Linked DNA regions of Homo sapiens: regions 2, 3, 4, 5, 6 and 7 are each linked to region 1. The links are contacts of gene promoters, found by promoter capture Hi-C in human tissues and cell types (Jung and others, 2019). All regions are on one chromosome and are shown on one strand. The core of a region is centred on a gene start or on the middle of the fragment in contact, and the rest is flanking DNA. Distances in the headings are between cores, read along the strand shown.

Region 1 (4,133 bases), core at 1,090-3,589:
GAGAATGGTTTGAGCCCAGGTGTTTAGATGAGCTATGATCACATCACTGCACTCCAGCCTGGGTGACAGAGCAAGATCCCATCTCTAAAAAGAGTTCTGAGGGATCCAGAGAGGCTTCAGGAAGGAGGAGGACTTGAGAGAGACTGTCAGATGAAAGTCACATTTAGAGTTTATTAAGCACATGCTCCATGTTGGGCATTATACTATAGCAGTGAGCTTTCACGTGGATCCCTCATTTACTTCTCAGCACAGACCTACTAGGTAGGTATTTGTCTCTGTAGATGAGGAAACTGAAGCTAAGAGCATCAACTGTGCAGTGTCACAGCTAGCAAGTGGCTGGGCAGGGATAAGAGATACAGCTTGCCCTTGGAGATCATACATGCACTTCAAGTCTTGGGTCAAATTCAGCTGCTTTCATACAGGAATCCTCTCTTTTGATGCCCTAGCAGTCATCCCTTACCTGTCTCATTGCAACTGCCACACTTGATTCTGTGGCTCTCAAAGAATCCAAAGTCCAGCCTAAGAACTGAAGAATGAGTAGGTGGAAATGCACTGTGGTAATCAACGCATAAGGGAGACTGTACTGAGTCTGCCACAAACAGGGTCCACCCAGGCCTATCCCATACATCCCGGAGAGCCATGGAGCCCAACAATGGGGTGCTGGGGTCCCTGAGGCTGTAGCTGGAAGTACTCTGTGTCCCTAAGGCAGCACTCCTATGCTGACCTCCAACTGCTAATGGGCTCTGTGCAGCAGGGACAACCCTCTGCACAGTCCAGACCTGAGGGCAGATGGCAGGTGACCTGGGGGTGAAGTGTTATGTATGGAGCAGGGCAGCTCCCTGTCTGGGATCACTTTTCTTAGAGGAAGCCTCCTGCCTATTGTCCTGCTCCTGCACTTCCCTCCTGGGACCTGGCAACCTCAGGTGGGAAGGCTGCATTGAGGCTGCAGGCTTGGTCAAGAGAAGCAGGACCCTGGTGCGAAGGGAAATGAGCCTGGACAGCATACTTGTCACCTGCCCCAGGACTAGTGCCCCTCCAAGCCAGAGAGCCCAGATAGCCCTCAGTGGGGCTGGTGAGAGTCACAGTTCTCCGCACGTGGCCAGGAAGTTGAGCAAGAGTAACCCAACCACATAAGGTATGGTGCAAACCTGGAAACTTCTGAGAGCAAAGGGATGCTCTTAGTTGTTAGGCGGGGGCCGCCCAGCAGAGCCAGGACGGTGGCGACCCTAGTCCAGAGCCTTCCACTTTAGCAAGGTAGAATCCAAGGGCCCCAGAAGGGAACAGACTCCATCTGGGTCGCCTAAGCAGGTGAGAGAGGAAAACCCAACCACAGTCGCGCCCCAGCCCTCGCAGGTCCCTGGCTGAGGACTCCCCTCTCCACCTCAGGCTGGGCGGCCCCCGCCTTCACGCTTGCTCCCACTTGTCCCTCGTTCTTGCTAGGCTTGGCAGGTATTTGTTCCCTGCTCCTTCACGCTCTCAGTGCCGTGGCCACGTCGCTGGGTACGCCCCACCAGGCAAGAGACATTTTCCGTCTTGTTCTCTGCCACGTCCCCAGAGCCTGGAACAGTGCTTGGCACAGAGTGGACGCTCATTCGTGGAGTAAGTGCCTGATGGATAATCCATCACTTGCTTTTCTAGTATGAATGGTCTATTTACGGGTCCAGCGCCCCTGCTGGCTTACGACCTTTTCCAGGGCGGGGAGGGGCTGTCCTCATCTCTGTGACCCCAGCGCCCAGCCCAAGGCCTGGCACAGAGTAAGTGCTCAACCACATTTTGGTGAATGAGTGAATGGAAGCGGCCCAGCAACCCTGAGCCAAGGAGCCACTGTGGGGCAGGTCAGGGCGGTTCCTGGCACAGGGCTTCCCACTAGCCTGGCCACCAGCTCTGCGGTCTCCTGGAAGCTGGGGGGCCTTTGGGTAAGGGAGAAGAGTGGCCAGGAGTTGTCTGCGTGTGCCCTGTGACGGTGGGATAGAGACAGCGATTGGATTGAGGAACGGGAGGTTCCCCGAGGCTGTTTAGAGAGGCGGGAGCGGGAGCTGGTCAGGGAGGCTGGACAGACCACCCGAGGGAGCGGAGCTTGGGCACGAAAGCCAAAACTGGGCGGCGCGGGGCGGGTGGGGAAGGCCGGCTGAGAAAGCCGGGATTGCCTCCTGGTGTCAAAGCTCGGAACTGCAGCAGGATCCTGGGGGCGGGGCTTGTGTTCAGCAGCACTCGCCACGCGCCCAGCCCTCAGCCCTCGTCTCGCCTTCTGCTGGCTGGCCCGGCGACGTTGTGCGCCAGCGTACGCGGGGCTCTGAGAACCCGGAAGTTACGTTTTAGGCCCGCGTCACGGGGGCGGGAGTCAGCTGAGCTGCCGGGGCGAGGTTGGGATCACCTGGCACCGGCTGAAGGGAGCCTGTGATTTTTTTGTAGCGGGGGCGGGGAGTAAGGTGCAAGACTGCGCCAGATTCAAGGACGAGGGCTGCCCGATTATCTCGCTGCATAAGGCAAGAGCAAGAGGATCCTCAGGATTTTAAAGAGGAGGCGACGGCTGCAGGTTCCCAGGATCTGTCAGAGGCTGGGGAGTTACAGCTTCCATTCTGGGGCGACGGGGACCCCGGGGGGGTAGCCCTTTTGTAATCCCCAGGCCCCGGACAAAGAGCCCAGAGGCCGGGCACCATGGCGTCCATCCTGGATGAGTACGAGAACTCGCTGTCCCGCTCGGCCGTCTTGCAGCCCGGCTGCCCTAGCGTGGGCATCCCCCACTCGGGTAAGGAAGAGGAGGGTGCCGCTGCCCCTTTCGGCTCTCCTAGCATTTGCGTGGGAGCAGCGAGGAGGGCAGCTCCAAGAGCTCGGGGTCATCCCCTGGGCCGTGCCTTCCGGGTCTAGGCCCCTGATTCTCCTCAGGCTCTCTTGGCCCCCAGCTGGTGGATAGTCGAAGTTTGAAAGAGCAACGGGAGCTGCCGCGTGATCTAGGCTCTACCGCTAGGGTCCTTTTGAGAGGGAATTGGGGCCCAGATAAGGAATTACTCACCTACAGGGCGCAGTTGGGCTGTTGGGAGAACTTAGAATGGGCTCCCGGCTTCTGCTGATGCTTTTCCCACCAGGCCCCTTCTGGAGGTGGGAGGGAAGGAATGGACAAAGAAAGTGGTGAAGGCGGAGTATTGCAGAGGAAGAAGGGAGGGTCCCAGAGGGAATTTTGTCGCTGAACGGGGAAAATGGAGATGAAATCTTTTTGGCCTTGGCTATAGCTGGGTGCAGCCTGGAGTTTGGGGACGTTTTTGTAGAAAGTAGTGAGTCTCCAGGAGAATGAGGGCATAGGGAGCCCTGGGGAACTGTTCCAGTGAGTGGAGTTAACGAATTGGAGCTGCTTTCACTCTAGTCTTTACCTTCATTCAATGCTCAAAATATCCCAGCACTTGCCAACTCTACACTGAGGCTCATTACCGCATGGGCAGGGAGGGGGGCAGAGAATGGGGCTATACTACTTCAGTTAAGCTGGGATTGCTGGGCCAAAGACCTGATAAGGGAGAATACCCAGACCACCAGTCCCGTCCCACCTCCACGCAGCCCCATTACCAGTGGGAGCAGGTATATCATGCTGTGACAGCATCTTAAGGGTTCAAAGAATCAACCCCTCACTGCTGTCAGAGTGTGGAAAGAGCTCCAGACCTCTATTGTAAAGGTGACCAGCAAACGACTTGATATCAAACTATTTGTTAACCAAGGTCCTGGGGATAGGAATATGTCAGGAAAGTGGCGAGGAGCACTGTGGTGTTTTTTCTGCCTCTCCTTGCCCTTCACCTGTCTCTTCCACAGCTAATCTTCTTGTCATTCCTTACCTGTAGGGTATGTGAATGCCCAGCTGGAGAAGGAAGTGCCCATCTTCACAAAGCAGCGCATTGACTTCACCCCTTCCGAGCGCATTACCAGTCTTGTCGTCTCCAGCAATCAGCTGTGCATGAGCCTGGGCAAGGATACACTGCTCCGGTAATCAAGAGCTCACAGAGCTTAGGAGTAGGGACTAGAGAGGTGTTTGGGGACTGTTAACTCACTGGGCCTTTCTTCTATTCCAGGCAAGTAAAGCAGTGAATTTGGAGTTTTCAGGAAATATCCTATCCCTTTCCAAAGAGAACCAATACAGGGTAGTGGTT
Region 2 (4,133 bases), core at 763-3,262, 510 kb after region 1:
GGCGTGAGCCACTGCACCTGATGAATACCACTCCTAATACTTTTTTTTTTCTTTTTTGAGACAGAGTCTCACTCTGTCACCCAGGCTGGAGTGCAGTGGCACGATCTCGGCTCACTGCAAGCTCCGCCTCCCGGGTTCACGCCATTCTCCTGCCTCAGCCTCGCGAGTAGCTGGGACTACAGGCGCCCGCCACCATGCCCAGCTATTTTTTTTTTTTTTTTTTTTTTGGATTTTTAATAGAGACAGGGTTTCACCGTGTTAGCCAGGATGGTCTCGATCTCCTGACCACGTGATCCACCTGCCTTGTTCTCCCAAAGTACTGTGATTACAGGTGTGAGCCACCATGCCCAGCCTACTCCTAACACTTTCATATCACCCTGATATATATTATCTCATGCCATCCACACACAAATCCTATGAAACAAGTCAGATACGTATTTCCTTTCTGTAGGATACAGACACCAATAGGTAAAATGACATTATCAATACTTTTTTTTTTTTTTGAGACGGAGTCTTGCTCTGTCACCAGGCTAGAGATCTCCGCTCACTGCAATCTCCGCCTCCTGGGTTCAAGCGATTCTCTTGTCTCAGCCTCCTGAATAGCTGGGATTACAGGCGGGCGCCACCATGCCCGGCTAATTTTTGTTTTTGTTTTTGTTTTTTCAGTAGAGATGAGGTTCCACTATGTTGGCCAGAGTGGTCTCGAACTCCTGACCTCAGGTGATCCGCCTACATGGGCCTCCTAAAGTACTGGGATTACAGGCGTCAGCCACGGCGCCCAACCTTTTTTTTTTTTTTTTTTTTTGAGATGGAGTCTCGCTCTGTCACCCAGGCTGGAGTGCAATGGCACGACCCTGGCTCACTGCAACCTCCGCCTCCCGGGTTCAAGTGCTTCTCCTGCCTCTGCCTCCCGAGTGGCTGAAATTACAGGTGCCCGCCACCATGCCCAACTTTTTTTTTTTTTTTTTTAAGACAGAGTCCAGCTCTGTCCCCCAAGTTGGAGTGCAGTTGTGCGATCTCGGCTCATTGTAACCTCCACCTCCTGGTTTCAAGCAATTCTCTTGCCTCAGTCACTGGGATTACAGGCGTGCGCCACCACGCCCAGCTAATTTTTGTATTTTTAGTAGAGACAGGGTTTCACCATGTTGGCCAGGCTGGTCTCGAACTCCTGACCTCAAGTGATCCGCCCGCCTCGGCCTCCCAAAGTGCTGGGATTACAGGCGTGAGCCACCGCGCCCAGCCGACATTATCAATAAGGTTTGTTGATAAATCAAAACCATGTAAACAGTATGTTTTCACATGTATTATAAACGTTAAGGGAACCAGGAAAAATTAACAGTTGATCTGAGGTCCCGGAATTATGGATAATATTTAAATTCCCCCGCGCCGGTTGCACTTAAATGATTTTACCTCTACACATACCGAAATTTGAGAAACAAATGATAGCTCATAAAATGTTTTCCAAACCCTCCGTAGTGTTACTTCTCTAATAATATAACTTTAATTATAAATGCTTTGTTTCATTTTTTTTTTTCTACCAGTAAACAGAAAATCTAAACTATTAACTGGACAATACCGCCCTGAGGTTGACGGTGGGTTTTGACAACACAATCCACGCAGCTAGAAGTGAGTAGAATTAGTAAAGCTATCCATGCCTTACCATGTGCCAGAAACTGCTCTAAGTGTTTCACTGACGGCTCACAACAATCCTGAGAGAGGTACTATTATTATTTCAATTATAGAGACGAAGAAACTGACGTTCCAAGGCTAATTTACCCGAGGTCACACAGGTAGTGAGTGGCAAAATTCTTCCGCCTTGGCGTATACCTCCCGCACTCACGGCCTGGCCTCCGGAGGCTAGACGGTTCGCCGCGCTGGGGAGGCCCCCTCAACCCTCAAGTGCCAGGGCTCTGTCGCCTCCCCACACCCGGGACACACCAACCGCCGGCCTGCCGCCGCTTACCTCCCCGAGCCTATAGTGTACCTTCCGCCCAGAAGCCACTTTACCCGTATAGGTCCATCTGCTTTTCCCTTCCGATGCCAAACAAGGCGTCAGAACACCAAAGTTCCGGCCGAGTACAGAAGCCCAGGAAGGACAGCAAGGACCCCGTAGCCCAGCCAACTGAGGTTTTTGGAGGTTTTTGGTCCACTTGGTCGCCAGTTGTAAGGAAGCAGTGAGAATTCAGATAAGTTTTTCGCCTCTCCTTCCTGTATCCTTTCAGGCGGCAAACTCCATCCCTGCGTCTTTTTTTTTTTTTTTTTTTTTGAGACGGATTCTCGCTCTGTCGCCCAGGCTGGAGTGCAGTGGCGCGATCTCGGCTCACTACAACCTCTGCCTCCCAGATTCAAGCGATTCTCCTGCCTCAGCCTCCCGAGTAGCTGGGATTACAGGTGCGCGCCATCATGCCCGACTAATTTTTGTATTTTTAGTAGAGACGGGGTTTCACCATGTTAGCCGGGATGATCTCGATCTCCTGACCTCGTGATCCACCCGCCTCGGCCTCCCAAAGTGCTGAGATTACAGGCGCGAGCCACCAAGCCCGGCCCCCTGCGTCTTTCAAATAGAACCCAGTTATTGCTAACGCGCCTGTATCCCTTCCTTCCTTATCTGTCGCCTCGGTCCCCACAAGAACTGCCTGAGGCCTCAAAAGGCCGATTCTGCTGGAATTGCCCCCATGAATTCTTGAGGACCACCACGCACCTGGACAGCAGCCCCTCCTACCAGCCCTTCCCGAGTCTCGCCCCACACGGTCGCCAGTTGCTCAGGGCATCTGTTTGTACCTTGTGCACACCTCTCTTAAAGCACTTTTTTTTTTTGAGACGGAGTCTCACTCTGTTGCCCAGGCTGTAGTGCAGTGGCGCGATCTGCAACCTCCGACTCCTGGGTTGGAGCAATTCTCCTGCCTCAGCCTCCCAAGTAGCTGGGATTACAGGTGTGTGCCACCACACCCGGATAATTTTTGTATTTTTAGTAGAGATGGGGTTTCGCCATGTTGGCCAGGCTGGTCTCGAAATCCTGACCTCATGATCCACCCACCTCGGCCTCCCAAAGTGCTGGTATTACAGGCGTGAGCCACCATGCCCGGCCAAAGCACTTAAACATTGTTTGTTTTTGTTTTTTTTTCTTACTGCCAGGGAAGACAGAATCAACATTGTATCTTTCACTCACTTCTCACTTCCTTTGCCACGCTGTGAGCTTTCTTGGGTCCAGACTGCGCTGTTTTTCCTTTCCCCAGAATGTACCATAGCGGCGGGAATTTAGTGCTTAGTGTGAATTTGAGAGCATATAGTTCCGTAACACCTTTGTTCTCTAAGGTTCCGAAGGAGCTCACTAAATACACTAGCCCTTTCCATGTTTTCTCCTTCACTAGTTTCCGCGCCGCCTCCTCTTCCTCAAATTCGGCTTGGCTTCTCTAGACTCTACACTTGCCCCCTCAAACCTTACCTTTCTGCCCCCATCACTGACTCTTCTATTCTCTTCCCACAACCTTTAATGCGGGCTGTCTCTCCATGGCCCATCCTGCCTCTACCTCTTTTCTAGTTTCAAATATAAGTTATCGGCCGGGCGCGGTGGTTCACGCCTGTAATCCCAGCACTTTGGGAGGCCGAGGCGGGCGGATCACAAGGTCAGGAGATCGAGACCATCCTGGCTAACACGGTGAAACCCCGTCTCTACTAAAAATACAAAAAAATTGGCCGGGCGTGCTGGCGGGCGCCTGTAGTCCCAGCTACTCAGGAGACTGAGGCAGGAGAATGGCGTGAACCCGGGAGACGGAGCTTGCAGTGAGCCGAGATCGCACCACTGCACTCCAGCCTGGGCCACAGAGCCAGACTCCGTCTCAGAAAAAGAAAAAATCGAAATGTCTTTTTGTTGTTGTTTTTTAGGAAATATCCTTGAGCAATAAAGAAAACTAAATGTCTAAAACTAAATGTGTCATTTTTCCTCCTACTAATTCCTCCTGTCTCCCTATTTCTGTAAATGGCCACATCCTTCTAGGATGGAAATGCTTGACTGTCCTTGGCTCCTCTCCTTAAAATCTTCTCTTACTGATTTTAAATCCTGTTGCATTCTCTTGCTGTTTTTGATCTTTGATCTTTTCACACCTTCTTTCCAAGCCCACTGACACGTTTCT
Region 3 (4,133 bases), core at 886-3,385, 410 kb after region 1:
TAAAGTCAGAATAGGTATCTTAGTTACTGACAGTATTCAGGTTTTTTTCTCCCTTGGTGATATGTCATTCCATCAGTGAAAAAATATTTTCTCCCAGGGATAAGAAAGGTATTCTGGTAATACATTATCATCAATCCTTAAACAGTAACAGTCTTGGCACTTATCACAAAACCGACCCATTTCTTATAACCAGAAAGATTATCTTAGACTGTCCTTCACATTATACTTTACCTACTGCCTTGTAAGAATAAGAGTTGCTCACTGTGTTTACTTGCTGTCCTCCATATTCTCCATTGCACCATTGGTGTATAACGTTAAGAGTTTCATTGAATATTATTTTAAGTATTACAAAAGGCAGCTTGCTTCTTAATCTATGCATCTTTGGGGTTTTTGAAGAAATTTAATTCTTTGATGTAAAAAGGAACTGTTAAAAAAGTTGGAAGCTCTGCACCTGTGTATATATATATTTTAGCAATAAAGCAGCATGGGCTGAGAATGCACTGAAATCTCATTGTGTGTCGTTACTTGAAATGGGTAATTTTAAATAATGCAGTACATACTGATGATGGGAGAAGGAGCCTTTCCAAAGACCTGTGCCAAAGTACTCTTCAGATGTTAAAGAACAAAGGACCAGGTTACTTGAGACCTAGCTGTAGCAGTTTCCAGTGTGTTGTACAATGGAACAGGCAGCCATTCAAACCTCAATATGTAATGCTGCTTTTACAGCCATAAGGAGTTTTGGAATACTTTTTCTAACATATTTGTAATTGCCTTTATTTTGTGTCTCTGTGTATCCACATACATGGAGTTTAATAATAGTATTCATTGAGCACCAACTATGTGATAAGCACTGCTCTAATTACATTAGATGCATTAATTAACTCATTTAATGCTCACTACAGCTCTAATTACTATAGTTTTTATCCCTATTTTACATAGAAGGAAATTAAAACAGATAAATTGTTCCAGTTCATGGCTAGTAAGTACCCAAGCCACAGTTTCAATCCAGTTTGGTTCCAGAGCCTGCTCACTTACCAGGATGCTATATTGTGCTTCTCAAAAAATAGAAAGGGAAGAAGTATACTTTCACTCTGTATTTTGTCACACATCTCTTTTTTCTAGAGTGAGCATGTAATCTGAAAAAAATCTATTTAAAGCTAGCCAGTTTAATTTGACGTAAAGGTCAAGCATTTAATTTTATTTATTTATTTATTTAGAGACGGAGTCTTGCTCTGTCGCCCAGAGCAACCAGGGGTGACTCAATGTGGTACTTATTAGGTCTTTTTTTTTTTTTTTTGAGACGGCGTCTCACTCTGTCACCCAGGCTGGCATGCAGTGGCATGATCTTGGCTCCCCACAACCTCTGCCTCCCAGGTTCAAGCGATTCTCCTGCCTCAGCCTCCCGAGTAGTGGGACTACAGACACACGCCACATGCTCAGCTAATTTTTGTATTTTTAGTAGAGACAGGGTTTCACTATGTTGGGCAGGCTGGTCTGGAACTCCTGACCTCGTGATCTGACCGCCTTGGCCTCCCAAAGTGCTGGGATTACAGGCGTGAGCCACTGCACCTGGCCTATATTAGGTCTTATTCTTTAAAAAGTAAAAGCTTTTATTGGGCTGGTTTTTGCCAGAAAGCATCAACCTTGCTTATAGGACCAAATTTTTGCAACTCTACGCATAATCAGACCTGGCACAATGGCTCACCGCTGTAATTCCAACACTTCAGAAGGCTGAAGTGAGGATCCCTTGAGCCCAGTTTGAGCCCACAGTGAGGCCTTGTCTCTACAATTTTTTTTTTTTTTTTAATTAGCCAGGCGTGGTGACACAAACCTGTGGTGCCAGCTATTCAGGATACAGTTGGGAGGATCACTTGAGACCAGGAAGTCAAGGCTGCAGTGGGCCATGTTCACACCTCTGCACTCAGGCCTGGGTGACAGAGTGAGACCCTGTCTCACCACCCTCCCCTCAAAAAAAGCATAAGCAGGCCAGTCGCAGTGGCTCACGCCTGTTATCCTAGCAGTTTGGGAGGCCAAGGTGGGTGGATTTGCCTGAGCTCAGGAGTTCGAGACCACCCTGGGCAACACGGTGAAACCCCGTCTCTACTAAAATACAAAAAATTAGCCGGGCGTGGCGGCATGCACCTGTAATCCCAGCTACTCAGGAGGCTGAGACAGGAGAATCGCTTCAACACTCGGGAGATGGCAGTTGCAGAGATCAGGCCACTGCACGCCAGCCTGGGCGACAGAGCAAGACTCCATCTCGGGAAGAAAAAAAAAAAATTTATATATATATATTCTGCTAGCTACATCCCAGCCAAGTTAGCTTTTCTATCCTCCACCACTTGGATATGTAATTTCTTGATTGTGCTAGTGCCAAAGGCTCTCCTTAGTGGTCTGCTTGCTGTCCTTCCCACCTGTTTTCCACAGGACAACCACAGTGACATTCTGAAAAAGTAAATTTGATTAGGCAGGCCTTCTTTTAAGGACCTCATAAAGGTCATCCCTCCATCACCTTATTAATTCCTATTCGTCTTTCAGACCACCGCTGAAACTTCACTTCTACACAGAGGCTTTCTTTCCCAGAAACCCAGACCAGGTCAGTTACCTGCTTTATGTGCGTGTATCCCTATGTTCCTTTACTTCAAAACCCTTACTAGCGTCATAATTTTACATATCTTTTTTTTTTTTTAGATGGAGTTTCACTCTGTCGCCCAGGCTGGAGTGCAGTGGCACGATCTCGGCTGACTGCAGCCTCTACCTGCTGGGTTCAAGCAATTCTTCTGCCTCAGGTTCCTGAGTAGCTGGGATTACAGGTGCGCACCACCATGCCTGGCTAATTTTTGTATTTTTAGTAGAGACGAGGTTTCACCACGTTGGCGAGGCTGGTCTTGAACTCCTGACCTCAAGTGATCCACTGCCTCGGCCTCCGAAAATCTGGAATTATAGATGTGAGCCACTGCGCCAGGCCTGTAATTTTATGTATCTTTATGTGATTATTTGAATGTCCCTCTCTGACTAGATTATAAATTCTAAGGATAGTGTGTCTATTTTTGCTTACCTTTTATCCCCAGCACCTAGTCTAACACTTTACAAATATATATTAAATTAATATTTTGATAAGTTACTCAAAGTGCTACATAAAACAAAATTATAGAAAATAGTACTTTGGTAACTGTTTCGTTTTATCATTGCTTTCATTATTTCTCTGTTAACCTCAGTTTACAACTGAAAAAGACAAATTGTATATTATTCAGGCAATTTATTAAACATTACCTATAGAATATTATGATCTGTATTTTACAGAAGTTAAAAAGTGATGTATTAGTATTCATAACAACTGCTCCATGCAGGAGTAATAGAAGTCAACATTAAGCCCAACTCTATTTTCAGACCAACCATGCAACTTTAGATCAGAGGACACATGGGACTCTGCATCTTAATTCCTAAATTTACAGTCAAAGACATTTTCAGAGATAAGTATTATGAATTCAATAAGAATCTAAAGTAAGTTCTTAAGGCAAATAGCTATAAAAGAGAAGAATCCTTAGTCTCTCATCTTCTAAAAACAGCTTCACAAATAATTTGGAAAATCAGCCTAAAGGTAAATAGAAACTGCATTTCCCCTCCATTCTTGAAGCCAATCTTTTTCAAGAAATGACTAAGCAGCACCTGTTGTTGAAGACAGCAATAAAGCCTGAACCTGACACTCAAGCTTTGGTACAGGATCAGTTTTCTGGCTTGGACTGGTCAGGAGTCACTTCACTCAGAATCTTCATTAGTGATTTTAAGCGATTGTGCGTTAGCACTATCTTCTCTTTCAGCTAGGAAGAGAAATATATAGATATCAGGGCATCTTTTTTTATTTTTACTTATTTTAAGAGACAGGGTCTCACTCTGTTGCCTGAGCTGGAGTACAGTGGCACATTCATAGTTCACTGCAGCCTCAAGCTCCTGCTCTCAAGTGATCCTCCCACTTCAGCCTCCTGATTAGCTAGGACTACAGTCATGTGTTTTAAATTTTCTTTGTAGAGATGGGGGTCTTGCTTTGTTGCCCAGGCTGGTGTTGAACTCCTGGCAGTCAGTGATCCTCCCAAAGTGCTGGAATTACAGACATGAGCCACCACACCAAGATG
Region 4 (4,133 bases), core at 1,085-3,584, 400 kb after region 1:
GTCCCTCTGAAGGCACTGAAAAAAAAATTTCCAGTCCTTCTAATTTCTTGTGGTTCCTTAACTTGTGGCAGCATAACTCCAGTCTTCACATGAAGTTCTTCCTGTGTGTGTATCTGAGTCCTAATATAAGGAGACTAGTCATATTGGATTGGGGTCCATCCTGCTCTGTTAATGACCTCATCTTAGCTGCTGACATCTGTAATGACTCTATTACCAAATAAGGTCACAGTATGAGGTAGTAGGGGCTAGGACTTTTAACATACGAATATTGGGAGGACACAGTTCAACCCATTAACACCTACTTATACCTTGATTAATTATATGAAAACCATTCAGTGTACAACTGCTTCAAGGATTGAAACCTTGTATGTAGTCCCAGCTACTCTGGAAACTGAGGTAGTAGGATTGCTTGAGGCCTGAAGTTCAAGGCTGCAGTATGCTGATTGTGCCTGTGAATAGCCACTGCACCCCAGCTTGGGCAGCATCAGAATTATAGAGACAGAAAGTAGAATGATGGTTGCCAGGGGTTGCAGGAAGGGCAGCGAGAGGGAATTACTGTGTAATGTGTACAAGGTTTCAGTTTGGGAAGAAGAAATGAGTCCTGGAGATGGATTACGGTGATGGTTGCACAGCAGTATGAATGTACTTAATACTACTGAATTGTATACTCGAAAGGGTTAATATGGTGAATTTTATGTGTATTTTATCACAATAAAAACATTGAAAAATAAAACAATCTTTGTATGTATATGTATATATGTGTGTGTATATATGATATATATGATTGATATATATATATCAGTAGTAAGAAAGGGAATAAAAACTGATGAGGCAAAATGCCCTTTAGAGTGAAGAAGGCCTTACCACTTGGATTTACAACTTTAAGTCCAAGTAGACAATAATAGAAACTTGACATTGGTATAGCACAATATTTATAGTAATCTAAATATCCATCTGTAGGCTGGGTGTGTTAGCTCACACCTGTAATCCCAGCACTTTGGGAAGCCAAGGCGGGTGGGTTCTTTGAGGTCAGGAGTTAGAGATGAGCCTGGCCAACATGGTGAAACTGTGTCTTTACTAAAAATACAAAAATTAGTCGGGCATAGTGGTAAGTGCCTGTAGTCTCAGCTACTCTGGAGGCTGAGGCAGGAGAATTGCTTGAACCTGGGAGATAGAGGTTGCAGTGAGCTGAGATTGCACCACTGCCTGGGCAACAAAGCAACACTGTCTCAGGGGGAAAAAAAAAAAAAATATATATATATATATATATATATATATATATATATATATATATATATATATATGGTGTAGAGAACTGATGTAAATAAAGTACATCAAAGGTAGTACTTTACTTACAGACTGGTACTTTGTCCTGATATGGAATGATCTCTAAGATACATTAACAGAAAAAGCAAGGTACAGAACAATATATAGTGTGCTTTCATTTGTGGGAAATGTCTCTAGAGATGTTTTGTAGCCATAGAATATTCCTAAAAGGATATGCAAGAAACACTGTTTACCCTATTTTACCTTATCTCGTGCATATATTTATTCAAATAAATAATTTAGAATTTTCAAAGAAAGGAAGCACTGAATAAATATTTGATAAATGACAACTTAAATTTTTGCTCAAGCAACAGTTTTACATCGATATAGTATATCCCTATCTAGGGGGCAGAAATTGAGCACCTAGCCCAGCAAGTTTTTTTGTTGTTGTTTGTTTGTTTTGGTTTTTTGCCCTGGCTGGAGTGAAGTGGCACAATCTCAGCTTGCTGCAACTTCCACCCCCCAGGTTCAAGCTATTCTCCTGCCTCAGCCTCTCTTGTACCTGGGATTATAGGTGTCTGCCACCACACCCAGCTAATTTTTGTATTTTTATTAGAGATGGAGTTTTGCCATGTTGGCCAGGCTGGTCTCCAACTCCTGACCTCAGGTGATCCACCCCCCTCAGCCTCCCAAAGTGCTAGGATTACAGGCTTGGGCCACCGCGCCTGGTAAGTTTTTTTTTTTTTTTAATTATTTATTTTTTTGAGACAGAGTCTCACTCTGTTGCCCAGGCTAGAGTACATTGGTGCTTGCTGCAACCTCCGCCTCCGGGGTTCAAGTGATTCTCCTGCTTCATCCTCCTGAGTAGTTAGGATTACAGGCCTGCCACCACGCCCAGCTAGGAAGGTTTTTTTTTTAATATGACACTTATAAACTTAATTTGATTGATAGTGATAATAGTATTCATTGTGTTTTGTGAAATATATTCTAAATTCCCTATTTACATAGTGAAGTAAAAAAGGTGCACTAACTCCCGGGATACATCATTCTCTCTGTCCTTAGAGGAAGCAAAGTATATTAGTTATTGCTGTATAACAAATAACCCAAAACTCAGTAGATTAAAACAACAACAAATATGTATTACGTCTCTCAAGAATTTGGTAATAGCTTAGCTCTGGGGAGGTTCTGGCTTAGGGTCTCTTAAAAGCTTGAAATCTGGCTAGGCACGGTGGCTCATGCCTGTAATCCCAGCACTTTGGGAGGCCAAGGCAGTCGGATCACGAGGTCAGGAGATCGAGACCATCCTGGCTAACACGGTGAAACCCTGTCTCTACTAAAAACACACACAAATTAGTCGGGTGTGGTGTTGGGCACCTGTAATCCCAGCTACTGGGGAGGCTGAGGCAGGAGAATGGCATGAACCTGGGAGGCGGAGCTTGCAGTGAGCAGAGATGGCACGCTACTGTACTCCAGCCTGGGCAACAGAGCAAGACTCCGTCTCAAAAAAAAAAAAGCTTGAAGTCTGATGGAGTTCTGTGGTGACACATTTACATGGCTGGCACATTCATGCTGTTTAGGGGGAAGTTTCATTTCCTCCCAATGTAGGCCTCTTTCAGGGCTGTCTGAGTACTCTTATACGGTGGCTGGCTTCTCCCTAAACAAGCAATCTAAGAGAATAAGGCAAAAGCCATAGTCTACTCTATGACTTTGCCGCAGAAGTCACTCACTGTCACTTCCTCCTTGTTCTGTTGGTCAGTATTCTGACATCAAGTGGTACATGGCAATACATTTCTTTTTTTTTTTTTTTTGACACGTAGTCTCGCTTTGTTCCCCAGGCTGGAGTGCAGTGGCGCAATCTCACTTGCAAGCTCTGCCTCCTGGGTTCACATCATTCTCCTGCCTCACCCTCCCAGGTAGCTGGGACTACAGGCGTCTGCCACCACGCCCAGCTAATTTTTTGTATTTTTAGTAGAGACAGGGTTTCACGGTGTTAGCTGGGATGGTCTCGACCTCCTGACCTCGTGATCTGCCCGTCTTGGCCTCCCAAAGTGCTGGGATTACAGGCATGAGCCACTGAGCCTGGCCATGGCAATACATTTCTGACACCACCCAAGAATTAGCATAGACCTCACAGGTCAAAGGGCATGGTCCTCAACAAGACTGTCCTCACTTCAGATGCCAGCTGTACTTCGGAGGTACCCCCAGCCACCTGCATTTTCGACCAAGTGGCTACAGATTTGGAGAGTCCCATGACCCTCTTAGAACCAGCTTTTGATTTCGTTGGTTTTCTTATTGTTTTTAGTTCCTTTAAAGTTAGGTTGGTTGATTTGAGGTCTTTTTACTTTTTTTTTGAGACGGAGTTTCACTCTGTTGCTCAGGCCAGAGTGCAGTGGCACAATCTCAGATCACTGCAACCTCTGCCTCCCGGGTTCAAGCAATTCTCCTGCCTCAGCCTCCCGAGTAGCTGGAATTACAGGTATGCGCCACCATGCCCAGATAATTTTTGTATTTTTAGTAGAGGTGGGTTTTCCCCATGTTGATCAGGTTGGTCTCAAACTCCTGACTTCAAGTGATCCAATTGCCTTGGCCTCCCAAAGTGCTGGGATTACAGGTGTGAGACACTGTGCCTGGCCAACTTTTTAGAAACAAGGTCTTGCTCTGTTACCCAGGCTGGAGTTCAGTGGCTTTTCTCAGGTGTGATCATGGCACACTGCAGCCTCGCACTCCTGGCCTCAAGTGATTCTCCCACCTTAGCCTCCTGAGCAGCTGGGACTACAGGCATGTGCCACCACTGCTGGCTGAGGTCTATTTTGATGTGAGCATTTACAGCTATAAATTTCCCTCTTAGCATTGCTTTCACCACATCC
Region 5 (4,133 bases), core at 1,093-3,592, 370 kb before region 1:
TGTCTTGATTACCACGGTTTTATAGGAAGTTTTGAAATTAGGAAGTGTGAGCCCTCCAACTTTGTTCTTCTTTTTCAAGACTGTTTTGGCTATTCTGGATTCCTGGAATTTCTATATGAATTTTAGAATCAGCTTGTCAATTTCTACCAAAAAATCCAGCTGTGATTTTGCTGTAGATTGCAATGAATCTGTAGATCATTTTGGGGAAAACTGGCATCTTAACCATGTTAAGTCTTCTGATCAATGAACATAGAACGTCTTTCCTTTAATTTAGGTGTACATCTGCTTTTTAAATGTTACTGGGCAGGGAGCTTAAATATCAGATGGTTCTAGTTTATTCTCAAACACTTGGGTAACTTGAGTAAAGCCCATTAAGCATGTAGATGTCACTCAGCAAAGCCTGAGGAGGACAGTCCCTACCTTTGCAGTACGGACAGTTGCTCAGCATAACTCAGAGGTGCTGCCACAGGTTTCTGGTTTTCCTTTCTTTTTTTTTTTTTTTTTTGAAACTATTTCGCTCTTGTTGCCCAGACTGAAGGGCAGTGGCGCAGTCTCACTCACTGCAACTTCGGTCTCCAGGGTTCAAGCGATTCTCCCGCCTCAACCTCCCGAGTAGTGGGGATTATAGGAGTATGCCACCACGCCTGGCTAATTTTTGTATTTTTAGTAGAGAGTGTGTTTTCGCCATGTTAGTCAGGCTGGTCTTCAACTCCTGAACTTACCTAAGGTCAGGAGTTTGAGACTAGCCTGGCCAACATAGTGAAACCTCATCTCTACTAAGTGATCCACCCACCTCAGCCTCCCAAAGTGCTGGGATTACAAGAGTGAGCCACTGTACCTGGCCAGCTGCTGGTTATCTGTTACAAGAAAAGGTGGATAAGCGCTGGGCGCGGTGGCTCATGCCTGTAATCCCAGCACTTTGGGAGGCTGAGGTGGGTGGATCACCTGAGGTCAGAAGTTCAAGACCAGGCTGACCAACATGGAGAAACCCCGTCTCCACTAAAAATACAAAATTAGCCAGGCATAGTGGCGCATGCCTGTAATCCTAGCTACTCAGGAGGCTGAGGCAGGAGAATTGCCTGAACCTGGGAGGCGGAGGTTGTGGTGAGCCAAAATCCCGCCATTGCACTCTAGCCTGGGCAACAAGAGCGAAACTCCATCTCAAAAAAAAAAAAAAAAAAGGAAAAGGTGGATAAGTCTCTCTGGATTTATTTTCCTTACCTGTAAAAAGGAAATAACCATAATTACCTCAACTACTTCAGTAAAATTGTGTTGAACAAATTTTTTGAATTATAAAAGTAAATAGGTAAAAGATAGTTTATTAAATAGGATATAAAAAGGGTCAATAAACAAATGAAAATATGCTCAATATCAATAGCCAACTGAGAAATGCAAATTAAAGCCACAGTGAAATACACACCCACCAGAATGGCTAAAATTAAAGACTGATACTACCAAGTCCTGATGAACACATGGAACAATTAGAACTCTCATTCATTGCTGGTGGGAGTGTTAAATGGGACAACCACTTTAGAAAACATATTGGCAGTTTTTAAAAATAAAACTAACAGACATAACAGTAGTTCCATTTTGTGGTATTTACCCAAGATAAAAGAAAATGTATATTCACAGAACAGCTGTACATGAATGTTCATAGCTGTTTTATTCACAGTAGCCAAAAACTGGACACAAATATCAGTTGACGGGAGAATGGATAAGTAAATTGTGGTATATCCAGAACAATTAAAGACAAGTCAGTAATTTAAAAGAAGAACAAATTATTGATACACACAACATGCATAATCTTTTTTTTTTTTTTTTTTTTTTTTTTTTGAGACGGGAGTCTGGCTCTGTCGCCCAGGCTGGAGTGCGATGGCGCGATCTCGGCTCTGCAAGCTCCAGCCTCCCAGGTTGACGCCATTCTCCTGCCTCAGCCTCCCGAGTAGCTGGGACTATAGGCACCCGCCACCACGCCCAGCTAATTTTTTGTATTTTTAGTAGAGACGGGGTTTCACCGTGTTAGCCAGGATGATCTCGATCTCCTGACCTCGTGATCCGCCCACCTCGGCCTCCCCAAAGTGCTGGGATTACAGGCCTGAGCCACCGCGCCCAGCCACAACATGCATAATCTTAAAAATATTATGTTGAGTGAAAGAAGCCAGACACAAAAGAGTATGTACTGTATAACTGGATTTATGTAAAATTCTAGAATGGACAAAACTAAGCTATAGGGACAGCAGATCAGTGGTTGCCTGGGGCTTATGGGGGTTGGGGCAATTGGCTGCAAAGAGGCATGAGAGAACTTTCTGGAATGATGGAAAGGCTCTGTCTTCATTGGGGTGGTGGTTACATGTGTGTATACCTTTGGAAAAATTCATCAAGCTGTTCTTTTTCTTTCTTTTTTTTTTTTTTTTTTTTTTTTTTTTTGGAGACTGGGTCTTGTTCTGTTGCTCAGGTTTTCTACAGCCTCGACCTCCTGGGGTCAAGCAATCCTCCTGCCTCAGCCTCCTGTGTAGCTATGATTACAGGCCTATGCCACTATGCCCAGCTAATTTTTTAATTTTTTGTAGAGGCAGAGTCTCGCTATGTTGCCCAGGCTGGTCTCCCAACTCCTGGGGCTCAAGCATTCCCCTCACTCAGCTTCCCAAAGTGCTGGGATTACAGGCATGAGTCACCATGCCCAGCCAAGCTGTTCTTTTTTTTTTTTGAGATGGAGTCTCACTCTGTCGCCCAGGCTGGAGTGCAGTGGCACAATCTCAACTCACCGCAACCTCTGCCACCCGGGTTCAAGCAATTCTGCCTCAGCCTCCAGAGTAGCTCGGATTACAGGCGCCTGCCACTGTGCTTGGCTAATTTTGTTGTATTTTTAGTTGAGATGGGGTTTTACCATCTTGGCCGGGCTGGTCTCGAACTCCTGACCTCGTGATCCACTTACCTTCGACTCCCAAATTGGTGGGATTACAGGCGTGAGCCACTGCGCCCGGCCAATTTTTGTATTTTTAGTAGAGACAGGGTTTCACTATGTTGGCCAGGCTAGTCTCAAACTCCTGACCTTAGGTAATCCGCCCGCCTCAGCCTCCCAAAGTGGTGGGATTACAGGCATGAGCCACCATGTATGGCTGAGCACTCTTCCTCTAAAGTCTCCCCAAACTATGTTATGTCTCCTAAATTCTGAAAAAGTCCTTCTAAATATTCTAAAGCCACACTCTTTTAGACTTATTTCCAAGACCTCAGGGAGGCCTACCAGTCCTTCTCAGGCCACTGTAACTGACCTGAAGTGTCCTCTTACCCAGACCTCAGCTCCTTTGACCTCACCCTGGCAGGCCACTGGGACCTCGCCTGCTCCTCAGAGCTGACCCTGCCTGACACCCCTTGTTTCTCCCTTAAGCTTTGAGTGCAGAGACCCAGGACATTCAGGATTCAGCCACAGGTGCTCAGGGAATACTGGGTGGCCTCTGGCCTGGGTTCTCCAAGCCTTAGAAGCCACCCACCCATAATGTCTGGTCCACCCAATGCCCTGGCCCTTGGATGCTCATACTTTGGTGTCTCTCCTTAGGTATAAATAAAATAGTGTCAATAATTACATATCTTTGTCCTTGGCCTTTTTTTTTTTTCTCTCCATGACCTGCAAGTCACCGTGGATGGTGGCTGGGGTGGTTGGGCTTTACTGTTCTTTCCCACTGAGAGTGCAGACGAAAGACCTCTGCAACAACACCTGTGAACTGCCTGGTGCCTGTGTGGGCCCACTGCGGCCTCACCTCACACAATGTGGGCTGTGTAGACCAGAGCCAGAGAAAGTTAAAGCTGCTCATGCACTAGGGATAAACACAATTGACAGTGGTTACTGTCCTTCCAGAACATTTTTTTTCATGAAAATATGTGGGCTTGTTTGTAAGTGTGTGTTGGGGGGTCATTTGTTTTTAACAGGCTGGGCTCATGCTCTTTCAGCTCAATAAATATTTATTGATTAGCTACTGTATGCCAGGTACTGTTTTATATAACTGAAAATAATACTGTAACTTGCTGTTTTTTCTTAAAAGCATAAAATCTTTCCACATCAGTACATAATGATCTCCATCATTATTATTGACAGTCACATGGTAGTCCATAGCAAGGCAGTTTCACAACTCCAG
Region 6 (4,133 bases), core at 609-3,108, 310 kb after region 1:
GGCGTGGTGGCACACTCCTGTAATCCAAGGTACTTGGGAGCCTGAGACAGGAGAATCGCTTGAAACCAGGAGGTGGAGGCTGCAGTGAGCCAAGATCGTGCCATTGCACTCCAGCCTGGGCAAAAGAGCAAGACTTCTCCTCAAAAAAAAAAAAAAAAAAAAAAAAAAAACCCTAAAAATATTACTCTAGGCCAGGTGCGGTGGCTCACACCTGTAATCCCAGCACTTTGGGAGGCCAAGGAAGGAGGATCACTTGAGCTCAGGAGTTTGAGACCAGCCTGGGCAACACAGTGCAACCCCATCTCTACTAAAATACAAAAAAAATTAGCCAGGCATGGTGGCATGCACTTGTAGTCCCAGCTACTCGGGAGGCTGAGGCAGGAGAATTGCTTGAACCTGGGAGGCGGAGGTTGCAGTGAGCCGAGATCATGCCACTGCACCCCAGCCTGGGCGACACAGCAAGACTCTGTCTCAAAAAAAAAAAAAAAAAAATCAGCCAGGCACGGTGGCCCACGCCTGTAATCCCAGCACTTTGGGAGGTCAGGGCAGTTGGATCACCTGAGGTTGGGAGTTCAAGACCAGCCTGGCCAACATGGTGAAACCCTGTCTCTACTAAAAATGCAAAAATTAGCCGGGCATGGTGGTGGGCACCTATAATCCCAGCTACTGGGGAGGCTGAGGCAGGAGAATCGCTGGAACCCAGGAGATGGAGGCTGCAGTGAGCCAAGATGGTGCCACTGCACTCCAGCCTTGGCAACAGAGCAAGATTCCATCTCAAAAACAAAAAACAAACAAAAATTAGCCAGGTGTGGTAGTATGCACCTATAGTCCCAAGTAGTCCAGCTACTTGGGAGGCTGGGGCAGGAGGATCTCTTGAGCCCGGGAGTTCAAGGCTGAAGTGAGCCATGATGGAGCCACTATACTCCAGCCTGGGCAACAGAGACTCCATCTCAAAAAATGTATGTACTTGTATATATACATACACATATATATATACACATATACACATACACACACATATAGATAAAACTTTCCCTCTGCCTCTGTATGTAAAAAAGGGCCATAAAAATGATCTGACCCACCTTATTTGACAGTAGGTCATAGATCCCCATTCTATAGAGGGTCCCGCTACATACCAGGAAAGAAGAAATACATGCTATGAGAGCCAAGACGAATCTAGACAGACAGGCCTTGCTGGGTTTCCCAGTCAGTCTATTAACATTAGATCATATCTTTTTGTTCAATCATATTTCTCCATAGCTGTCCATACTTTGTTGAACCTAAACATAAAAATGGACAATTACCCGTGTATCTTTGAGTCTTCGTTCTGAAGGTTCTCATGTACGCGTTAAATTTGTTGTGTCTTTTCTCCTCTTAATCTGCCTTTTTGTGAGTTAAGTTTTCAGCAAACCTACAGAAGGCAAAGGGAAAATTTTCCCTTGGCCCCTGCATCTTGCAGCTTCCAGGCTTGAGAAAACAGCCTGCATTGGAACAGGAGGGTAGAGGGCTCCAGGAGAGATGACTTCAAGACAAAAATGCAGCATAGGTTGGCAGAATCGTGTTTTTGTTTGTTTGTTTGTTTTTTGAGACAGGGTCTCACTCTCACATGCATGAGAAACCATGCTTGGCCCTAGCCCACTAAATTTAAGCATGTGAAAAAACTGTATGGCATCCTTAAAGATATGGAACAGCTTAGTCATAGGTATAAAGAAAACAAAGTTGGTTGGGTGCAGTGGCTCATGCCTGTAATCCCAGCAATTTGGAAGGCTGAGCTGGGTAGATTGCTTGAGTCTGGGAGTTTGAGACCAGCCTGGGCAACATGGTGAAACCCTGTCTCCACAAAAAATACAAAAAGTTAGCTATCACGGTGGGATGTGCCTGTAGTCCCATTTGGGCAACAGAGTGAGACCCCGTCTCAAAAAAGTAAGGAAGGAGGGAAGGAGAGAAGGAGGGAAGAGAGGAAGGGAGGGAGGGAGGGAGGAATAAAATGAGGCAATTACTAACTCTATGTAAAACAAAAAGTTGTTCAAGAAGAGAAACGATTCTCCTTGACTCAGCAGAGAGTTATCATTACAGTCGTAATAACATATAGACTAAATTTGGTCTTTTTTTTTTTTTTTTTTTGAGATGGAGTCTCATTTGTGGCCCAAGCTGGAGTGCAGGGGCATGATCTTGGCTCACTGCAACCTCCACTTCTCAAGTTCAAGCAATTCTCCTGCCTCAGCCTCCCATAAATTCTGAATTCTGTCTTAGTAAAAAATTGTGACATAACTAAGTTGGAAAGACCTAGGGAAGAGTGGGTGCAATAAAGGAGCAAAATCTTTATTTATCACAATAAAATTGAATAGATTATGTGTAAAACTGATAAATCAAGAGAAAGCAATAAGCATGTTATTAGAAACAGGAAAATCCGGGCCAGGGGTGGTGGCTCACGCCTGTAATCCCAGCACTTTGGGAAGCCAAGGCAGGCAGATCACTTGAGGTTAGAAGTTCAAGACCAGCCTGGCCAACATGGTAAAATCCTGTCTCTACTAAAAATACAATAATTAGCCAGGCGTAGAGGTGAGTGCCTGTAATTCCAGCTACTTGGGAGGCTGAGGCAGGAGAATACCTTGAACCTGAGAGGCAGAGATGCAGTACAGTGAGCCAAGAGATTGCACCACTGCACTCCAGCCTGGGCAACAGAGAGACCCTGTCTCGAAAAAAAAAAAAAAAAAAAGAAACAGGAAAATAGCAGAAACTACATTTCAATGTGTTAAAAGTAGTTGACTCCCCTAATGTTTGTCAAAGTATTTTGTAAACTGTAAAGTACTGCACAAATATAACAATCCTGTTATTCAATTCTTTTTTTTTTTTTTTTTTTTTGAGAAGGAGTCTCGCTTTGTTGCCCAGGTTGGAGTGCAGTGGCACAATCTCGGCTCACTGAAACCTCCTCCTCCCAGGTCCAAGTGATCCGCCTGCCTCAGCACCATTAGTAGCTAGGATTATAGGCATGCGCCACCACGCCTGGCTAATTTTTGTATTTTTAGTAGAGGCGGGGTTTCACCACGTTGGCCAGGCTAGTCTCAAACCCCTGACCTTGTGATCTGCCCACCGTAGCCTCCCAAAGTGCTGGGATTACAGGCATGAGCCACTGTGCCTGCCCTATTCAACTCTTTTTTTTTTTTTTTTTTTTTTTTTAAGTAGTGCCTCTGCGCCAGGTGTGGTGGCTCACACCCAGCACTTTGGGAGGCCGAGGCGGGCAGATCACGAGGTAAGGAGTTCGAGACCAGCCTGGCCAACGTGGTGAAACCCCGTCTCTACTAAAAATACAAAAATTACCCGAGCGTGGTGGCGGGAGCCTGTAGTCCCAGCTACTCGGGAGGCTGAGGCAGGAGAATCGCTTGAACCTAGGAGGCAGAGGTTGCAGTGAGCTGAGATTGTGCCATTGCACTCTAGCCTGGGCGACAGAGTGAAACTCCGTCTCAAAAAAAAGTAGTGCCTCTGGCAGGGTGTGGTGGCTCATGCCTGTAATCCCAGCACTATGGGAGGCCAAGGCGGGTGGATCACCTGAGGTCGGGAGTTCGAGACCAGCCTGACCAAAATGGAGAAACCCTGTCTCTACTAAAAATACATTAGCTGGGAGTGGTGGCACATGCCTGTAATCTCGGCTACTCGGGAGAGGCTGAGGCAGGAGAATTTCTTGAACCCGGGAGGTGGAGGTTGTGGTGAGCCGAGATCGTGACACTACACTCCAGCCTCCAGGCGACAAGAGCAAAATTTCATCTCAAAAAAAAAATAATAAAAAAAATAAACGTAGTGCCTCTGAAGTGGAGTGGAGGGTTTTTTTTTCTCTTAAATTTGATTTTTTTCTTTTGCTTTTAATACAAGTGCACGTGATGCTTTTAGTTAAAAAATTAAACACACAAGCCCAAGGATCTGGCTGGGGAAAACCTGTCCATTAATTTGCTTCCAGTTGCAGAAAGGACAGCTGTAGTCCAGATCCCAGCACTTTGGGAGGTTGAGGTGGGCAGATCACCTGAGGCCAGGAATTCGAGACAAGCCTGGCCAACATGGTGAAACCCCATCTCTACTAAAAAGACAAAAATTAGCCAGGCATGTTGGCTCATGCCTGTAATCCCAGCTACTCAGGA
Region 7 (4,133 bases), core at 510-3,009, 270 kb after region 1:
ATTTTACCAAGCTACCATATAGTTAATAAAAGGGTATACAGTCACTTTTATTTTTGAAAATATGAAACATGGAGACTTTCAGTGTATATGATGCTTCTCTTTTGGTAAGGAATTATACTTTTATTTCATGGATCCCAGGCAGGCATATCAAAGTTATGGAATTTATAAAATCATTTGGGATAATTAGAAAATTCAATTATTCATAACAGAAAAATAAAGACTTTCTCAAAAGCAAAAAAAAAAAAAAAAAAGCAGCAAATACTTATTATCTCCCAGTTTCTGGGGGGTCAGGAATCCAGGATCAGCTGAGCTGGATGATTCTGGTTCACGTTCTCTTATAAGTTTGTGGTCAAGCTATAGGCTGGACTGTAGTCACCTGAAGGCTTGACTGGGGAGGATCTACTGGAGAGGAATGACCACTGTTTGGTTGTGGGAGATGAAGACATAGTCCCTCACAGACTGTCGGCTGGAGTCCTTGGTTCTCTGTCGGGCCGAATCCTCCCAAAAGTATTCTCCCAACATGGCAACCAGAACAAGTGATCTGACAGAAAGAGTGCACCCAAGATGGAAGCCATAGTATTAGGCCTTTTAGAAGCAAGGAAAGTATATACCAAGATTCTGGGAAGATGGCAGGGTGGTAACGGTGGCATACTTTCTAGATCTTCTCAAATCCCCATGTAAAAACAGAATAATTAGAGGACAAAACTCCAAACCCATGAACAATATTTACAACATACTGGGTGATGAAGTAACTCATAAACCTGAAATTGCAAAGAGGTGGGGACAACCCAAGAGATACTGACAACCATGTGGGAAAAACAGTAGAGGGAAGCAATGGGGTATCTGACAGACCTAAGAAGAAAATTGGTATTCACTAGAGAGTGTTAAGCGCCAATTTGAGAACAACAGCTGAAACCAAAAGGGGTTTTTTCACTCCAATAGCAATTGCATGAAAGGATCCCACAGTCTGAAGGTATACCCAGGCTTGAACAGTCTAGACCCTATAAGCTCTGTATAATAACCAACCATGGATCCCTTCCAGGACAAGTTCACACACTGGGGAGAAACTTCTAGAAATGGAACAAAAACTGAGCAGGGTAGGGAAAACAGAAAGGAAAGAGAGATAAAAGTACTAGGGAAGAAGACAAAGCCAAGAAATCTCAGAAAGCAAATAACTGTGATTTTAACACTACACAAAAACAACAAAATAGGAAGCTCTGTGAAGTTAAAAAATTAATTGAGCCTAGCCTGATGTGGTGGCTCACACCTGTAATGCCAGCACTTTGGGGAGCCAAGGCAGGAAAACTGATTGAAGCCAGGAGTTCTAGACCGCCTGGACAACATAGTGGGAACCTGTCTGCCCCCGCCAAAAAAATTTTTTTTTGAGACGAAGTCTAATTCTTTCACCCAGGCTGGAGTGCAGTGGCGTGATCTCAGCTCACTGCAACCTCCACCTCTGGGTTCAAGTGATTCTCCTGCCTCACCTCCCCAGTAGCTGGGATTACAGGCATGTGTCACCATGCCTGGCCCAAAGAAACCCCTTTTTTTTTTTTTTTTGAGATGGAGTCTTGCTCTATCACCCAGGCTGCAATGGAATGGCGTGATCTCGGCTCACTGCAACCTCCGCCTCCCGAGTTCAAGCGATTCTTCTGCCTCAGCCTCCTGAGTAGCTGGGACTACAGGCGCATGCTACAGTGCCTGGCTAATTTTTGTATTTTTAGTAGAGATGAAGTTTCACCATACTGGCCAGGCTGGTCTCGAACTCCTGACCTTGTGATCCGCCTGCCTCGGCCTCCCAAAGTGCTGGGATTACAGGTGTGAGACACTGCGCCCAGCCCCAAATTTTTTTTTGAAAACTAGCTGGGCATGGTGGCACATGCCTCTAGTCCTAGCTACTTGGGAGGCTCAGGTGGGAAGATTGCTTGAGCCCAGGAAGTCAAGACTGCAGTGAGCAGTGATTATGTCACTGCACTCCAGCCTGGGTGACAGAGTGAGAGTGTCTCAAAATAAAAAAAATAAAAAATAAATAGATGAACACTCTAATATATTGGTGCATAAAAAGCTAAAATGCATTAAGAATATTATGTAAGATGGCCGGGCAGGGCGTCTCATGCCTGTAATCCCAGCACTTTGGGAGGATCACTTGAGGCCAGGAGTTGGAGTCTAGCCTTGGCAGTATAATAAGAACCCCATCTCTAAAAAACAAACAAAAAACTATACAGCATATTTTAAAAATCACACTGTATCTGAAAATGGTGATCCAGAATGACCAACACCAAAACATAGTCTAACAAAATCATTTGACTTGAAAGAAAAAGAGGCCAAGGTGGGCAGTTCGCTTGGGTCCAAGAGTTCGAGACCAGCCTGGGCAACATGGCGAGACTCTGTCTCTACTAAAAATACAAAAAAATAGCTGGGTATGGTGGTGCACGCCTGTGGTCCCAGCTACTGAAGTGGGAGGATCACTTAACCCCAGAGGGTGGAGGTTGCAGTGAGCTAAGATTTCGCCACTGCACTCTATCCTGGGTGATAGAGTGAAACACTGTCTCAAAAAAAAAAAAATTATATCAGTCGGGCGCGGTGGCTCACGCCTGTAATCCCAGCACTTCGGGAGGCCAAGGCAGGTGGATCACCTGAGGTCGGGAGTTCAAGACCAACCTGACCAAGATGGTGAAACCCTGGCTCTACTAAAAATACAAAATTAGCCAGGCGGGGTGGTGCATGCCTGTAATCCCAGCTACTTGGGAGGAGGCAGGAGAATCGCTTGAACCCAGAAGGCGGAGGTTGTAGTGATCTGAGATCAAGCCATTGCACTCCAGGCTAGGCAACAAGAGTGAAACTCTGTCTCAAAAAAAAAAAAAATTATATCTTAGTAAAACCGTTAAAAATAATTTGTGGTTGATATAACTTACAATGAGAGTTCATCAAACTACAAATGAGGTTTCTGGTTTACATAATACTATTCTGATTTTCTTCCTATTTGTCTTCTCCTTCTTGGTCTCTGTGTGTATCTCTTCCTGTTTACTTTTTTTTTTTTTTGAGAGGGAGTCTCGCTCGTCGCCCAGGCTGGAGTGTGCAGTGGCGCAATCTCGGCTCACTGCAAGCTCCGCCACCTGGGTTCACGCCATTCTCCTGCCTCAGCCTCCCGAGTAACTGGGACTACAGGTGCCCACCACACCCGGCTAACTTTTTGTATTTTTAGTAGAGATGGGGTTTCACTGTGTTCGCCAGGATGGTCTTGATCTCCTGATCTCGTAATCCGCCCACCTCAGCCTCCCAAAGTGCTGAGATTACAGGCGTGAGCCACTACACCCGGGCTTTTACCTTTTTTTTTTTTTTTTGAAAAGGAGTTTTACTCTTGTTGCCCAGGCTGGAGTGCAATGGCGAGATCTCAGCTCACCACAACCTCCGCCTCCCGGGTTCAAGTGATTCTCCTGCCTCAGCCTCCTGAGTAGCTGGGATTACAGGCATGCACCACCACACCCAGCTAATTTTGTATTTTTAGTATAAAGACAGGGTTTCTTAGTGTTGGTCAGGCTGGTCTCAAACTCCAGACGTCAGGTGATCCACCCACCTCAGCCTCCCAAAGTGCTGGGATTACAGGCATCAGCCACAGCGCCCAGCCTTGCCCTATTTTAGGAGTGTGATCTTTCTCATTCCTTTTCTCTTACTCTCTATACTCAAACCTGGAAAATACTGTATATGCTCATCACTTCAAGGGCCATTTACATCTCCCAATCTCTCTAGCTCAGATCTTTCTCCTTCTCTATATTCACATATATCTGACTGTCTAGTAGACACATCCATGTAGGAATTCCAAATGTATTCTAAATGAGAAACATGTAAAATTCAACTATCAAATCACAGTTCTGCAAACTATCCTCTCAATATATTCTCTCTGTAAATGGCACCAACTTCCAAACAGATGCCCAAGTCAGAAACCTGGGAGCCAGCCAAGACTCCTTTCCACACTTTACCATCCATATTCAATTGGTCATTTGGTTCATTATGCTTCCTAAAATCCTGTATTTGTGTATTCCTCTCCATCCTACCAACTGTATCCCACTGTATCCCTCCCAAATTCAAGCATTCACATCTTCCACCTTAATCAATGCAAGAGTTTTCATACAAGT

The links. Contacts are between HindIII fragments. The study calls those that stand out against the background at their distance.
Region 2: a contact is called between the fragment with the promoter of NDUFAF1 here and the fragment with the promoter of VPS18 in region 1, in 3 of the 25 tissues and cell types used here (lymphoblastoid cells, spleen and stomach).
Region 3: a fragment that was not itself captured here is called in contact with the fragment with the promoter of VPS18 in region 1 in 1 of the 25 tissues and cell types used here (lymphoblastoid cells).
Region 4: a contact is called between a fragment that was not itself captured here and the fragment with the promoter of VPS18 in region 1, in 1 of the 25 tissues and cell types used here (spleen).
Region 5: a contact is called between a fragment that was not itself captured here and the fragment with the promoter of VPS18 in region 1, in 1 of the 25 tissues and cell types used here (lymphoblastoid cells).
Region 6: a contact is called between a fragment that was not itself captured here and the fragment with the promoter of VPS18 in region 1, in 3 of the 25 tissues and cell types used here (liver, lymphoblastoid cells and spleen).
Region 7: a fragment that was not itself captured here is called in contact with the fragment with the promoter of VPS18 in region 1 in 7 of the 25 tissues and cell types used here (IMR-90 fibroblasts, dorsolateral prefrontal cortex, heart left ventricle and 4 more).

Annotation. Positions count from the first base shown.
Region 1 is chr15:40,892,111-40,896,243 of GRCh38, forward strand. VPS18 (VPS18 core subunit of CORVET and HOPS complexes) reads left to right here and starts at 2,340. Exons shown (of 5, transcript NM_020857.3): 1 at 2,340-2,749; 2 at 3,828-3,969. The coding sequence starts at 2,659. RefSeq lists a silencer at 2,056-2,225 and an enhancer at 3,066-3,155. The HindIII fragment of the contact is 19,251 bases long and covers 1-4,133 here.
Region 2 is chr15:41,400,484-41,404,616 of GRCh38, forward strand. NDUFAF1 (NADH:ubiquinone oxidoreductase complex assembly factor 1) reads right to left here and starts at 2,013. Exons shown (of 5, transcript NM_016013.4): 1 at 1,661-2,013. The HindIII fragment of the contact is 27,298 bases long and covers 1-4,133 here.
Region 3 is chr15:41,306,029-41,310,161 of GRCh38, forward strand. It overlaps OIP5 (Opa interacting protein 5), which reads right to left. Exons shown (of 5, transcript NM_007280.2): 5 at 3,245-3,821. The coding sequence ends at 3,726. It overlaps OIP5-AS1 (OIP5 antisense RNA 1), which reads left to right. Exons shown (of 5, transcript NR_152821.1): 3 at 2,539-2,596; 4 at 2,692-2,813. Among named protein-coding and RNA genes, the nearest start is that of OIP5, 24 kb to the right of the region's middle. The HindIII fragment of the contact is 3,593 bases long and covers 340-3,932 here.
Region 4 is chr15:41,288,423-41,292,555 of GRCh38, forward strand. The region is part of intron 2 of OIP5-AS1 (OIP5 antisense RNA 1); the gene reads left to right. Among named protein-coding and RNA genes, the nearest start is that of OIP5-AS1, 7.8 kb to the left of the region's middle. The HindIII fragment of the contact is 4,813 bases long and covers 1-4,133 here.
Region 5 is chr15:40,522,342-40,526,474 of GRCh38, forward strand. It overlaps a transcript of CCDC32 not described here. Among named protein-coding and RNA genes, the nearest start is that of CCDC32, 41 kb to the right of the region's middle. The HindIII fragment of the contact is 5,556 bases long and covers 1-4,133 here.
Region 6 is chr15:41,203,775-41,207,907 of GRCh38, forward strand. The region is part of intron 7 of EXD1 (exonuclease 3'-5' domain containing 1); the gene reads right to left. Among named protein-coding and RNA genes, the nearest start is that of EXD1, 25 kb to the right of the region's middle. The HindIII fragment of the contact is 8,031 bases long and covers 1-4,133 here.
Region 7 is chr15:41,165,362-41,169,494 of GRCh38, forward strand. No RefSeq gene overlaps it. Among named protein-coding and RNA genes, the nearest start is that of INO80, 51 kb to the left of the region's middle. The HindIII fragment of the contact is 6,382 bases long and covers 1-4,133 here.